Regions from separate parts of the Homo sapiens genome. Here regions 1 and 2 are each linked to region 3. The links are contacts of gene promoters, found by promoter capture Hi-C in blood cells and fetal thymus (Javierre and others, 2016). All regions are on one chromosome and are shown on one strand. Each heading gives the region's core, a stretch centred on a gene start or on the middle of the fragment in contact. The rest is flanking DNA. Distances are from core to core; before and after follow the strand shown.

Region 1 (2,741 bases), core at 1-2,500, 260 kb before region 3:
AAGGCTGGTCAGGCACCTGCAGGAAGTATGCGCTCATGGGGTCCTCTTTGTTGTCTTCGTTGTAGAAGAGGCCTCCAGCCACGAAGACCTGGTTCTCCTTGGTAACCAGGCTGACGTGGTTCTTGGGGACCTGGTTGGAGAGGGAAGCACAGTAGCACTCGTTGGCTGCTGGATCGTAGGCCACAGCGCCCTCCTCACTGATCATGAAGATGAGATCCTGCAGGAACATGCCGAAGCGCAGGGTGTCATTGAGGATCCCAGGAAGGATACGTTCGGCCTCCTCATCCTCCTCTGCTTTGGCTTTGCTTGTGCCCTTATCAGCCTCCTTGGCCCCGGCTCCATCCTTCCCCTTCTTTTTCTTCCGCAGCGTGGTGATGCGGCCCTCGTGTGCATCCTTCACCATCTGCACCTTGCGCAGCAACTCGGGCTGGGCACGCACGAGAGGGTGGCGCTCCACGCGGCTTTCCAGAAAGGCGCGCGGCAGCAAGCGGCAGCGCACGCTCTCGAAGACGGTGGGCAGCGCGCGCTGGCGCTCAGCCTGCGCCTCGGCGTCGCCGCTACCCGCCCACCGCATCACCGCCTCGAACACTGCCTCCTCCTTCTCCACGTTAAGGCCGTCGCTGGAGATGATGGCGATGAGCTCGTCGGCCGAGAGTCCGAGGAAGTCAGCGTCGCGCGCCACCAGCGTGAAGTGAGCGCAGATGAAGTCGCGGGCAGCCACGGCGAGACGCGCGCAGTCGAGCAGGAGGCCGAGACGGAAGACGGCCAAGCAGTTGGAGAGGCACAGGCGCTTCTGCAGGAAGGACACGCAGATGGTGAAGATGGAAGGGATCTGGAAGCGGTGTGCCGCGGCGAACAAATCCTGCACGCTCGCCTCATCCAGCGCGATCTCTGATGTGTACAGGTAGTGCAGCACCTGGGCCACCACGTCCGGGGACACCTCCTCCAGGTGCAGCTCGCCCGCGCGCTCCGGCTCGGCTAGAAAGCGCGCCCGGAAGTAGGGGCTGCAGGCGGCCAGCACCAGGCGATGGCACGGGAACTCGCGCTCGCCCGCCCGCACCACACAGTCGAGGAACTTGCCATGGTCCAGCATGTCTTTGAGCCCGTCTTGCAGGAGCGTCTGCTGGTACAACCGCTGCTCCTCCGCCTGCTCCAAGCCCAGCGCCATGGTGGGTGGCCTAGGGTGCGGTGGCGGTGCCAAGGGGGCTCCTCTCTGTACCCCTGCTTTCCTGCTGGGGTTTGCTTAGACTGAGCAGCTGTCTTCGAGGGGCTATATATAGAGGTGGCCGGGTCCCTGTAAGGCGAGCCGCCTGGCCTCCTGCACATGACGCACAGGGGACAGCTGGGCAGAGGCCCCCTCCCAGAGAAAGACTTGACTCAGCCCCGGGGGCTTATGGGACGGGGGTGGGGTGTCTGGGCCCTTCTGAAAGATGAGGGCCTGGCTGCCTCATTTCTAAATGGAGCACGGAGAGGTCTTGACTCTGGATTCTTTGGTCAGGAGATGCCCCTAGGGGAGAAGGTGGCCTAAGCTCTGACCCTCAGTCCAGAGACGGGAAAGCACTGGAGCCTCTCTTCCAGGGTCTCCCTTCCTTCATGCTTTCTGGGAACTTCTGTCCTGGTGCCTCCATCTTCCCCCCCGGAATATGTCTCACTCCAGCTACCCCTGGATACAGGGTGCTTGGGTTTTCTGGTCAGAAGTTGGACATGGTGTTCACTTTTTGGCGGCCCTGTTGCCCTGCCTTTATTTTAAGAGGCAGGGTCTCACTATGTTGTCCAGCCTGGACTTGAACTCCTGGGATCAAGCCATTCTTCTGCCTCAGCCTCCCTCGTAGCTGAGATTACAGACATAAGACACCACCCCCGTTGCCTCACCTTTAAAATGGGAAGAGCTTTTCCTCTTTCTGTCCCTCCTCCTTGCAAGAAAGCAAGAAGGTACCTTAGGTAAACAAGGTTGCCACTTTCCTATGAGGCCTGGGGCAGGGCATGTCGCTCTGTTAAGCCACAGTTTCCCTTCCTACACAATGAGGAGGTGGCAAAGTTAGATGCTAAGGACCTCAGTTCAACTCTGCTGGAAGTTTAGAAGCACCAAGGTACTGTGTCCTGGGAGTACACTATTAGTTTTAACACTTCTAAGGTGTCAGATGTGCTAGCAAATTAATTTCTTAGGATTCTACTATTCTAGGTTTTTAAACCCCCGGGGTTTTAACATTCTAGGGAGTGACATTCTGAATTCTAGTGTTCAAAAAGTAACACTACAAGTTTAATATTTCAGGACTTTAGCTATCTATACTCACTATTCTTGGTGCATATTAGGCCAGACCTGAGACTGCCTGGCCATGGGGCCCCTGCACCTTGTCTATGGTCTGAGGGACCAGGGTTGAAGCCCAGGACAGCCAGTCTTGATGCCTACCTTGTTCTAGACTACTGACACCCCTCCCCACACCCTCCCCACCCCGCCCCACCACCAGACACACACACACACACACACACACACACATCAGCCTCAGTCACCAAGATTAACTTGTTCCCAAAGTGCCAGAGGCTGCAGCTGTGTGTTAAATTTAGCCCCCAGGACATTGGAATGAACTATTATGAGACACACCCCCATCATTCCTCTGAGTCACTTGTTTATAACGTCAGGCGGGGGAGTGGGGGAGGGGGTGGGTATAGGAGAGATGACAGCAGGCTGGGCTAGGACTGAGTCACCTCCCTTTTGTGATCTCAGCAATATCACTCTCTGT
Region 2 (3,093 bases), core at 478-2,977, 280 kb before region 3:
TCGCCCCTGCAGGGCAGTCAGTGCCAGGAGCTTACAGGGCTGATCCAACTACTTGGCTTCCTCATGTGCCAGGTCCTTCTTCTCCCAACTGCGTACAGTGGCAACATCTTCCCTATGGGCTGTGGTGACATTAAAAAGTTAATCCATGTACATCCTGGCTACTATGATTAACTTACTCCTAACAACCTTTGACTACCCCTCCCTGAGGAAGCCCTCCTTAACCCTGAAGTCTGGCTCAGGTATCCTTCCCTTCCTGATGCTGGCCTCTCTAGTGCCCATTACCCACCACAGCTCTAACCCAGCACCCACACTGTGCAGTAGTCACCATTCATGCTTCTCAGGGTCGGGGACCACAGACACGGGCCTCTGTGTCCTGTGTGGAGTGTGTAGGTTGGGCGTCTCCTTGCTGTTCTCCAGGCCAGCGTGTCTATGTGCTCGGGAGGCAGCTCCCTGCCTAAGTGCAGTCTCTCCCCTTCCTGGGCCCTGATGGGTGGGGAGCAGCACCTCCCTCCTGCCTCCTCAACTGAGCCTGAAGCTGGGGTCATAGGATCAGCAGGGGCTCCAGGAGCTGTCCTGTGACTGATCACAGCCACAAAGCTCCTTCTACCCCCGAGAGCCTCCCCACAAGCACACAGGTGAACAGGTCCCCCTAGATAGCACAGACACATACAGCTGCCCGAGACTTGGCCTCAACCGAAGGGGCACTGTCAGAGGTTCTTAATCTCAGGGGCACCTTCAGGATGCCCCTCCCCTCAGGTATCCAGGGCTGAGGCCTTGGATGCTCCCTTCCAGAATGAGGGCCCTGTCCTACCAGGACTCCCAGTTGGTTAGGAACACACCTGTCTTCCTGTCTGCCTCCACTCTGCCACCGAGAGGATACCAGCCATTCCAAGTACCCACAAGCCTTGCCAAGTGACCCTGCTAGCACCCCTCCATCCAGGACACTCCCTATGGGACAGGGCTGACTTATGGGGATCCCTCTCAGCCACATGTCCCATGCCAGTTCCAGTCCCATCAGGCAAGTCAGCCCTCCCTCAGGCACTGATGCATGGCCAGCCAGGACTCACGGCATAATGAAAAGGACCAGGTCATGGGGCGAGACAAGTCTGCCCTGGGATAGCCCTTAGGAGGTCATATGTAAAGGTAGGAGCTGGAGTCCCTGGAGCCCAAGCATGAAAGTGTTTGCATGTTGTGACTGTGTGTGTCTGTGGTGGGGGCAGGGCTTACAAGCCTGGAGAGGCTGGTGGGACCACCAGGAGTCTTCCTGGAAGAGGGAAGTCCTGGGTAGCAGTGAGAGAGAGGCACAGGCTCTCTAGGAGCCAGGGGAGGCAGGCTGAAGAGAGGCCCAGGTGTCCCTGTCTGAGCCTATGCTACTGGACACCCTCCCCCCACCCAGCACCCGCCCCCCTTCAAGGATCCTCCCTGCGGCTCCCTGTGGCCAGCAGCTCTGCAGCACTCGGCTCTGCTCCACTCTGCTCAGCTCCGCTCCAGGAAGGCCACCTCCTCCTCCCCCTCCTCCTCCCGCTGTCACCACTCACCGCTCATAACCTCAAGGGGGTGGGGACCCCAGGGCTGGACACACCCCACCGTGGCCCCAGAGCTCAGCCGGTCGCACGGACGGACAGTTGGAAGCCGGACCCCAGAGCCTGAGGTGGGCAGTGTGCCAGGGTCCCTTGCGGCCTCCTCAAGGTCAGTGCCAGCTGGGGATGCAGCTACTCTGGGGCTCTTGAGACTTGTGGGGCACACCCCAGGCCCTCATCCCAAATCACAGGCCCCAAAAGGGGCTTTACCCCCGGGGCATCTGGGGCAGGCAGGACCAGGGGAAAGGGTATGCCCCCGTGTCCACAGGCCAGCCCTGGTCTGGGGGTCTATCAGGAGAGGCCCCAGGCTGGGGGCCAGCTCCTTGCAGAGGCCTCACTGGGGACACCCCGCACCGGCCATGGGGAGCTAAAATTGGAAAGTGGCGAGTGGGAGGCAGCTGACAAAGCTATTTCACGGGCTCTTCACCATGCTCCGGTTTCAAGCTCCTGCTCCATTAACCTGATCCCCAGGGCCTCTCCACCCCCACCCAACTGATGAGGAGGTGCCTCCACCCTCAGGCCGACAGCACAGCCATCAGGCTGGCAGCCTCTGCTGTGGGCAGGGGCAGTGGTGGTCTTCTCTTACCCCAGATTCCAGAGGGGGGTCACTGAGAAACCCAATCCTGAAGGGAGGCAGGCAGAAGTCTGTCCCAGGTCTGCCATGTGACCTTGACAGGTCCCTGCCCCTATCTGGCCCATGACCCCTCCATCTGTACGAGGAGACCGTCGGCTGCTGGGGGGCCCAGGGGAGATGGCTACAGGGCTGGGGATGAAGATTTAGGGGAGGATCAAGGGTGGGCAAAAGGGCCACATCAGCCACCTCTTGGCCCCGTCAGCCCAAGAGTTGCCTGGACATGTTCCCTGCTTCCTCCCTTTAATTTGGGTCCTATGTCTGTATCCATGGAGTCCTTGGGAAGCCCCTGAGCCAGGCTGAAGCGGGATAGGAAGGGTAAAGGTGCTAGCTGAGCCGTAGTACGGCCCAGCAGTTCTCCAGGGGACAAGCTAGGCCCCCGCTGGAGGGAGTGGTGAGACTCAGCCGGGGCCTGATTCTGGTCAGCACCTTGGACAGCAGCCAGTGCCCTCCCTGGCCCCGCCTGGCCCCGCCTGGCCCCACATCCGCTACTCCTGGGCACCTCCTCAAATAGCACAGCCTCCAGCTGGTGCCCAGGGCCTGAATACACAGAGCGCTGAGAGAGTGGGGCAGTGTGGTCACGGACACAGGCAGGGACTGGGATGTGACAGGCTGGAGCTCAGGGACTTGTTGGGGGAATGGGGGTCAGTGACAGGCTGGAGGCTTAATGCGAGGATGGAGGCTTGGCTCTAGGGGCAGCACCTGGGGTGGTCATGGGATCTCAGGGAGGGGAGTGGGAGTCAGAGAAAGGGTCTTAGAGAAGCTGGGGCTTTGTGAGGAGCTAAGGGAGACTCACTGATCGAGGTGGGGACCCTGCAGGCAGAAACCTGACTGTAGTGATAGAGGTGGGGTTTCTCCGCACGCAGGTCATGGGGGCCTTGG
Region 3 (3,021 bases), core at 145-2,644:
GAGCCGTGGATCCCAGCAGAGGGGGAGGTGATTGCTAATGTTTTCACAAGAAGAGAGGAGGAGTAGAGAAGTGAACCCTTCCCCTGCTCCTCACCTTCCTCAATCTGAAGACAGGAAGAAGCTATGTGGCTACAGCACTCTCCATTCTCCAGTTGATCTTGGTGGTTTGGAGCTCAGTGGGAGCTGGAGAACAGGGTCAGGAAGACCAAGCCTTTCTGTAGGGAGGAGTGGTAGAAGGGAATGGAGCAGGGTTCCATCCAGGGGGTACTATGGGCAGGACTGATGGGCAGATGGCAGGGAAAGGACATTCCCTCTATTGCCCCTACTCCCCACAGGCCGGCGGGCAGAAGGGCACTACAACGAAAAGTTGCCACTGTGTATCCTAGACCCCATGTATATACTTTGCTCCACAGTTTGGGGGGAATTGATCATTCAGTGAATTCATTTTCTGGGGCCTGATTTGGATCTGTGCCTTGTAGACTCTGAGCAATAGATAATTGATCATTTCTCTTCTTCTCTCTCTCCCCATATGTATTGCTACATTTTATGGGCCCCGCCAACAGTTTCTAAGCTCTGGGCTCAGACTAGGCTGGCTGAATCTGGAGGGACTTTGAGACAATACAGGTAACCCTGCCCTACCTCAGCAATACTGAGTCATTAGGGTGACTCTGTGTGTGTGTGTGTGTGTGTGTGTGTGTGTGTGTGTGTGTGTGTGTGCGCGCATGCGCACGCGCACGCACACGCGGTTGCACCCATGCACTGGAATATTTATTTGTAAAAAGCTCCTAAATGATTCTGCAGCCATGGGACTACACCCACAAAGAGCTGGGTTGTTTCATACTTCTGGTAATTTCACCTTTATTTCTTTTAGGGTCTATTCAGCCTGTACTCATGTGCTCATGATTGGATCATGACACCTAAATGGGTTTTGCTATCTGGAAGAAGAGTGGATGCTTATTGAATATCCACTGTGGTCAGCCCTTTGACACTGTGGCAGGATGAATGGAGGCCCCAGAGGGCAGGCCTGAGAAGCTGCCCATGGAAGCTCCATGGGCTCCATGGAAGACTCGGTTTTGCTGAGTGGAGTACACTGGACTGCAGGGGGAGGTCAGGAGGTAGGTGTGTGGGGAGGGGTTGGATGTCCAGTGGGAGCATTTGAATACATTCCACTTTCCAATCCAGCTCCCTATCCTGTTCCCAAATCTTCAATAGAACCTACATTACTCACCAGTGCTTGGGAGTTTTTTCAACTTTTAATTAGGTAATATTTCAAACATATACACAATTTGGAGAAAAAATTATGAACCCACATGTACCCCATATTGACCACATTCAGTGATAGTTCATATCAATGTGCTCCCCCAATGCCCTCCCAGATTATTCTGCAGCAAATCCCAGAAAGTGTATAATTTTATTCATAAAAATTTCATTATGTATCTAAAAAGATAAATATTTATCTTTAAAAACATAATCACAATACCATTACTGCAGTTTATTTATTTATTTGTTTGTTTGTTTGTTTGTTTGTTTATTGAGACGGAGTCTCACTCTGTCGCTCAGGCTGGAGTGCAAGGGCACGATCTCTGCTCACTGCAACCCCCGCCTCCTGGGTTCAAGTGATTCTCCCATCTCAGCCTTCTGAGTAGCTGGGATTAAAGCCATGCGCCACCATGCCCAGCTAATTTTTGTATTTTTAGTAGAGACGGGGTTTCACCATGTTGGCCAGGCTGGCCTTGAACTCCTGACCTCAAGTGATCTGCCTGCCTCAGCTTCCCAAAGTGCTGGGATTACAGTCGTGAGCTACCACGACCCACCAGCCATTACTTCATTTAAATTTAGTAATTCCTTATTATATATAGTCAGCATTCATATTTCTCAGATTACTTCAAATTTATTTTATAGTTGGTTCATTTCTATTAAGATCCAAATAAGACTCATGAATTTTAATCAGTTGATAAATTTCTTTTATTCAGCAGGTTCCCTTTCAATCTCTCTTTTTCTCTCTTTTTTAAAAAATTACATGTTGAAGAAAGTAGGTTGTTCCCCTGTAGAATCCTCCATGGTCTGGATGTTGTTGATTGCATCTTCATGATGAAATAAAGCAAGTTCCTCTGTCCCCTGCAGTTATTTGGAAATTGGTGGTTTGATAGAGGCTTGACCAGATTCTGGTTCAATGCTTTTCGGCAAGATCGCTTCGTGGGCGTGCTTCCATCAGGAGGCATACACTATCCAGCACTCTATGTTTTGGGGATGTGAGCAGCTATTGAGGCTCAGTGCCCAAATCCACTAGTTCATTAGCAGTTGCAAACTGGTGATGTTCTATTTCCATCATTGCTTCTGCATTTTTTTGCAAACATTCTTCTATAAAAGGAAACTCCCCCTCAACTTTTTAGTTACCCTGAGTAACAGTGTGTACAGGGTAAGCATGACGCATTTTTGAGTCTTTTCCTTTGCTAACATTCAAAGCAATAAGTCAATTCCCTAGTACTTTGGGAGTTGTGTTTGTGAATGGCAGAGATGAACCTGACCTCTGCAGGAGGAGAGAGGTAGGGGCTCTCAAATTCTCTTAATACCTTTGTAGGAGAGGTGTTAATGCACCCATTTTTCTTTTTCTTTTCTTTTCTTTTTTTTTTTTTTTTGAGACAAGTTCTCACTCTGTCACCCAGGCTGGAGTGCACTGGCACAATCTCGGCTCACTGCAACCTCCAGCTCCCCGGTTCAAGTGATTCTCCCACCTCAGCCTCCTGAGTAGCTGGGACTACAGGTGCGCAATACCACACCTGGCTGATTTTTGCATTTTTTGGTAGAGACGGGATTTCTTTCATCATGTTGGCCAGGCTAGCACCCATTTTTCCTAAATGGGAAAATGGAGACCCAGAGGTGGCATAAGTTAATAAGTGGAGGAGCCTGGATTTTATTTTAGGTCTGTCTGGTTGCAGAGACCAAACTCTACTGCTGAGGCAAAGCCCTTTCCCTAGGGTTATAGGGAATCACCCTAATCCTGGGATCTGGCTGGCAGGA

The links. The method cuts DNA at HindIII sites, captures the fragments that hold promoters and counts their contacts. A CHiCAGO score of 5 or more calls a contact.
Region 1: the fragment with the promoter of KLHL40 here is called in contact with a fragment that was not itself captured in region 3 in 2 of 17 cell types (activated CD4 T cells and total CD4 T cells); the score reaches 6.0 in activated CD4 T cells.
Region 2: a contact is called between the fragment with the promoter of HHATL-AS1 here and a fragment that was not itself captured in region 3, in 5 of 17 cell types (activated CD4 T cells, total B cells, naive B cells and 2 more). The highest score is 6.2, in activated CD4 T cells.

What each region holds. Positions count from the first base shown.
Region 1 is chr3:42,684,046-42,686,786 of GRCh38, reverse strand. KLHL40 (kelch like family member 40) reads right to left here and starts at 1,250. Exons shown (of 6, transcript NM_152393.4): 1 at 17-1,250. The coding sequence starts at 1,168. RefSeq lists enhancers at 2,476-2,741, 2,593-2,741. The HindIII fragment of the contact is 7,370 bases long and covers 1-2,741 here.
Region 2 is chr3:42,701,175-42,704,267 of GRCh38, reverse strand. HHATL-AS1 (HHATL antisense RNA 1) reads right to left here and starts at 1,727. Exons shown (of 3, transcript NR_146957.1): 1 at 1,539-1,727; 2 at 36-119. It overlaps HHATL (hedgehog acyltransferase like), which reads left to right and starts at 1,470. Exons shown (of 12, transcript NM_020707.4): 1 at 1,470-1,689. It also overlaps a transcript of CCDC13 not described here. RefSeq lists a silencer at 2,685-2,754. The HindIII fragment of the contact is 10,429 bases long and covers 1-3,093 here.
Region 3 is chr3:42,425,454-42,428,474 of GRCh38, reverse strand. No RefSeq gene overlaps it. Among named protein-coding and RNA genes, the nearest start is that of LYZL4, 16 kb to the right of the region's middle. The HindIII fragment of the contact is 3,859 bases long and covers 1-3,021 here.